Linked DNA regions of Homo sapiens: region 1 is linked to region 2. Evidence: promoter capture Hi-C in 16 types of primary human blood cells and fetal thymus (Javierre and others, 2016). All regions are on one chromosome and are shown on one strand. Each heading gives the region's core, a stretch centred on a gene start or on the middle of the fragment in contact. The rest is flanking DNA. Distances are from core to core; before and after follow the strand shown. Region 1 overlaps STK17B (serine/threonine kinase 17b). Region 2 holds the start of ANKRD44-AS1 (ANKRD44 antisense RNA 1).

Region 1 (2,700 bases), core at 94-2,593, 1.0 Mb after region 2:
GGAGTTAAAGAGAATTTGGTGGGAAATTTAGGAAGATACAAGAAGGAGCGACAGAGAGCTGACTCATAACCTGCATGTACCTTATATGAAGGGCAACCAGATGTTTGAGGAGGGCTTGGTGGACAAAGGTGACATTCATGCTCCACTATATGCAAAACTGGCCAAAGGAGAGGAAATGGAAAAATATCTTGGCTCTGACAATTGGTTCAGATGCAGTAAATAAAAGGAAAATGAACTTAAGAAATGCTTAATGGATGCCTAAAGCAGCTTGTGATGTAGGTATATTTTTAATAAATAGATGAACTTATGAGGAAATTGGTACCCATATTGATCTTTCAGAACAATGGAAAAAAATCAGTGAAACTGAGCGCTATCAGAACTAAGAAGATACATAAGTAGTTAAAACAGAAAACAAAAATACTTTTAAGAATGAAGTTTAGACTAAGTTGGGATGAGAATTTTGTACATGGAAACAGTACAGCTGTTCAACAATGGCAGGGAACTGCAGGGAGAGTATTTTTGGGTAGAATGTTAATTTTGTTTTGTGGAACAATAGCGATATGCCCTTGTGACTTGCACTGTACCTGTGTCAGTGGACATGAGTTCAGCATATTTTAATTTTTAATCCTTGCAGCACTGGAAGATCAATTCTTTTATCATCCATACTTTAGAGGCAGCAAAATCGAAGCTTTCTTCACCAGTAAAAGGGAATGCGAAGTAAATCACAACAAAATTCCATTTCACCTTCATCACACTAGAATAGCCAAACTTAAAAGTCTGAATTGGGCAAGTATTGTCAAAGTAGTGATAAACCGTCCCATCCAGTGCTAGTGGGAGTGTAAACTGGGGGTGGAAAGAAGGGGCTATGTCTAATATGTTTTATTTTTAATTTAAATGAAATATGACCAAGTAATAAGATTGGAAAGTAAATGTTTGTATATAGTGTTCCTTATCTTACATTTGAAATATTATATATTTTGTTTTCTTTTTAAATAACTGTGTTGCCGCAGATCAGGCGACTTAACAGAAGTATATTTTCTCAACGATTCTGGAGGCTAGAAATCTGGGATCAGGGTGTCTGCGGGGTTGGTTTCTTCTGAGGCCTGCCCTCTTGGCTTGTAGATGGCTGCCTTCTCCTAGTGTGTTCACATAGTCTTTCCTCTGTGTGTGTCTGTGTCCTAATTGGCCCACTTTAATGACCTCATTTTAACTTAATCACCTTTTTAAAGGCCCTGTCTCCAAAGACAGTCACATTATGAGATACAGGGGTTAGGGTTTTTCAACTTAGGAATTTGGGGGAGGACACAATTCAGCCCATAACAATAGCAAAGTTAAATAATTTAATTAAGGTCTCATAGCTGGTATGATGGATGAATGGAATTCAGACCCAGGTGTCTTTCAGTCTAAAGGTTATTCTCAGAATGCTACACTACAACCCTTTGACTCCTAGAGATGTACCCCAAAACTAGTTAGAGCTGTTTCCCCAAAGACTAAGAGATGTAGAGAAAACAATTTTACTATCTAGTTATGTGAAAGCTATAATTTTAATTTAATTTTTTGAGACAAGGTCTCCATCTATCGCCCAGGCTGAACTGCAGTGACGCGTTCATAATTTGAGAATAACACCAAGAAGAGAAAATGTAGAAACTGAAAACGCTGAACTCTAATGACACTGCTTTTTGGCTAAGTAGACTATAGTTGGCATTTGAATTTAAGAAGATAAAGAACAGTACATATAAGTAGAAAATAGGAAAAAAAGATGTCAGAGGAGGAACAAATGCTTAGCGGGTTACTACAGGAGGGTGCTAAAAGAATAATAATTGATATTTTATTAAGTAGGCATAGCAATAAGTCATAAGTGTCTTGAAATATAGTATCTGTTATTGTTTTATGAATGCAATTAATATAATAGTTTTGATAACACTGAATGCATATAAACATCACAAATTTCCAGATACATATATGAGCTTCAGATACAGAACTTCGAAATAAAGCTTTATGTATAGGTTAGTCACTCTTCCAACAAAATTATTGAGCACTTCATACATAGCAGGCTCTGTGCTAGGTCCTGTCAAAGGAGGGACTCTTAAGACCTTTGAGAGTTTCTGAGTTTAGTACTGAAACATAGCCAATCCGTGGAAGAAGTTCTATTTCTTGTAGTCCTTCACGTCAGTAATATAACTCACAATATGTGCATTTACCACCAAATTTCTTTAGCCATGTGAAAATAAGTTTAAAATGAATAATTATTATCTTGTCGTATTAAATTACCTATTATGTGAAACCTATAACTTTATTTATTTATTTATTTATTTATTTATTTATTTATTGAGATAAGATCTCGCTTTATTGCCCAAACTGAACTGCAGTAGCACATTCATAGCTCACTGCAACCTCAAACTTCTGGGCTCAAGTGATGCTCCTGCCTCAGCCTCCCAAGCAGCTGGGACTACAGGTGCGAGCCACTACACCCAGTTAATTTTTAAATTTTTTCATAGAGATGGGATCTCGCTATGTTGCCAGGACTGGTTTTGAACTTCTGGCCTCAAGTGATCCTCCTGCCTCAGCCTCCCAAAGTGCTGGGATTATAGGCGTATACCACCATGTCCAGCTGAAACCTCTATAACTTTAAAGAATGGAGTTTTATGATGAAACTAAGTGATTGTTTGCATTATAATTTTATCATAACTATTTTTTTTA
Region 2 (2,700 bases), core at 98-2,597:
AAAAGTAAGTTTTATCCCTGACTAAATTTCAGTGTGGAAATAAAGAAATAAAGATAGCATGTACTTGGCTTAGGTATACTTGTTTTGTTCTTTCAGCTCGTTACGTAAAGATACATTTTTTTTTCTTTCTCATGACATGAAGATAAGCTTTCTTCTTACCAAAACCTAAACTGTGAAGGCAGCACCCAAGCCAAAAGCCTCGAGGCTCTGGTTTCTGTGGTGGGATGGGGAGAGAAGTAGGTTGCACAGATGTAGGATGCCAGCTGACTTCAGAACTTCCGGTCTCAGAGCTAACCAGGCTCGGCAAGCCACAAGAGAGAAGGAGCTTGCATAGGTGGAAGAGCAAAGAAAGCCAGTGCTGCAGAACTTCCGGTGCTCCTCCGCCGATGTCGGGCTGGCGCTGCTCCCGAGCCCTGTGTCCTGTGGAAGAAGTTGGTGAGAATCGTTTTGAATGTAGGCAGCCACTCCTGAGGAGGCTAGCCCTTGCTACATTAAAGGTGGAGCTAGATTTACATTTTATTTTATTTTATTTTATTTTTTATTTTTCGAGATGGAGTCTTGCTGTCGCCCAGGCTGGAGTGCAGTAGCACGATTTCAGCTCACTGCAACCTCCACCTCCCGGGCTCAAGCGATTCACCTGCTTCAGCCTCCCGAGTAGCTGGGATTACAGGGGCACGCCACCATGCCTGGCTAATTTTTTGTATTTTTAGTAGAGACGGGGTTTCACCATGTTGGCCAGGCTGGTCTCAAACTCCTGGCCTCAGGTGATCCACCTGCCTCGGCCTCCCAAAGTGCTGGGATTACAGACGTGAGCCACCATGCCCGGTCAAATTTACCTTTTAGATTCACATATTACCACCAGAAGAATGCTTCCTCTGACAACTGAGCGGTACTCCATCCCCAGAGCCCTTTGTGCAGACTATTATTGCAGTTTCCTAACTTGTTATGACACTCCAGCCTTTTCCTCCAGGTCATCATACAATCCATTTTTAGAGTGATTGTTCTAAAGCACAAATCTTAGGTCACTCCCCTGCTCAAAAACCACCCACTGCTCCCCCAGTTCCACAGAAGAGAGCTCAAATTTCTTAGCTTGGTATTCAAGACCTTCCATGATAGGATCCCTGTCTACTACTCAGCTTACCTCACTTCTCCCCTCCTCCAGCCAAATGAAACTGTTCCCTGTGTATGTTCAGGCTCCCTAGCTTCTGCTCACAGCCTTCTGAATATGAAGAAGGGAAAGTCCCTTACCATTCCATCCGTCTCTACCTGTTTAAATCCTCCCCAGTCTTCAATATTCATTTCAGAGGCTGCGTCTTTCAGGAGGCCAGGTACAATTTCTCTCCCTTCTCCATGCACTTCTCCTGCGGCCTGTGCCTTACATTCTAGCTGTGCGTATTTGTATACTTCCTGTTACACCTTGGTAACCTCATCAAGGGAGAGACTGACTCTGACATTCCAGTGTCTGAATTTCTTTCTTTCTTTTTCTTTTTCTGTGTTTCTTTCTTTCTTTTTTTTTTTTTTTTTTTTTGAGACAGGATTTCACTCTGTCACCCAGGCTGGAGTGCAATGGTGTGAGCATGGCTCACTGCAGCCTCAATTTCCTGGGCTCAGTTGGTTCTCCCACCTCAGCCTCCCGAGTCGCTGGGACTACAGGTGTGCGCCACCGTGCCCAGCTAATTTTTGCATTTTTAGTGGAGATGTGGTTTCACCATGTGTCTAGGCTGGTCTGGAACTCCTGGATTCAAGTGATCCGCCTGCCTTGGTCTCCCAAAGTGTTGGGATTACAAGCATGAGCTACTGCGCCCGGCCTCCAGTGTCTGAATTTCTTATGCTCAGTAAATGTCTTATGCTTAATACATCTTTGTTGAATTGAATGTGGTTATCTGAAATGTACCAAATTAAGTTTTAGAAAACATATCTTTTATCCCCTGTTGGAGGGGGTAGTGTGTAAAGAAATAAAGGAGCTACGCACTGGGTTGGTGTCTGTGAAAGGAAATATGATATGACTTCTTTTTTTTTGCAGAATTTCCCATTTTCCCATTTTATATTATCGAATGTTTTCCAGTCTCTTAGGCTCCTCTCTCTTCCTGCTGCCTTATCCTTTCCCTTTGACATCTGTCACTGGATGTCCTTACCATGATTTTGGATGGGGAAATGAGAAGATGCTTCCTGAAAGACTACACTGAGGGGATTCTCTAATAGATTTTCATTCCATGTGACTTTTTCTGGCTGGGGAGGGAGTAGGGGACCTTCCAGTCATCTCAGGCAGAAACTAATTCAGGTCCTGATCAACCCACTGCCTTAAATTTTAGAATGGTTGCTATAACAATTTTAGAATGGTTGCTATAACAAGATGCCTTAGGAAAAAAAAAATTGACAATGGCCAGAACAGGAAGGTGACTCCGTTTTACACATGTCCCTAGTCCCTCACCTGTGGAGAGGTGGTGAGAGTTTAACTGCTTGCTGTCTTTCCAAGAATGCACGTGGAATTCAAAGAAAAGAACAGTAGAAGGGAAGGAGAGGGTTTAAAGGAAAATTGTCATGGGCTTTGGAAAGACCTGATTGTGTAAAAATTGCTTGCTGGTGTTTGGAAAGAACCCAGGTGCTAACAGATTTTAGACAAACCCAATCTGGAGTTGCCTAAATCATGAATGATTTAATGTGACTGAGTTAATCCATATATCTTGTATACAGTAGTTC

Evidence for each region. The method cuts DNA at HindIII sites, captures the fragments that hold promoters and counts their contacts. A CHiCAGO score of 5 or more calls a contact.
Region 1: a contact is called between a fragment that was not itself captured here and the fragment with the promoter of ANKRD44-AS1 in region 2, in 2 of 17 cell types (non-activated CD4 T cells and fetal thymus). The highest score is 5.6, in non-activated CD4 T cells.

What each region holds. Positions count from the first base shown.
Region 1 is chr2:196,163,669-196,166,368 of GRCh38, reverse strand. All of the region lies in intron 1 of STK17B (serine/threonine kinase 17b), which reads left to right. Among named protein-coding and RNA genes, the nearest start is that of STK17B, 6.6 kb to the left of the region's middle. The HindIII fragment of the contact is 1,306 bases long and covers 691-1,996 here.
Region 2 is chr2:197,196,638-197,199,337 of GRCh38, reverse strand. ANKRD44-AS1 (ANKRD44 antisense RNA 1) reads right to left here and starts at 1,347. Exons shown (of 2, transcript NR_135584.1): 1 at 1,249-1,347; 2 at 65-420. The region is part of intron 1 of ANKRD44 (ankyrin repeat domain 44); the gene reads left to right. RefSeq lists an enhancer at 232-301. The HindIII fragment of the contact is 4,177 bases long and covers 150-2,700 here.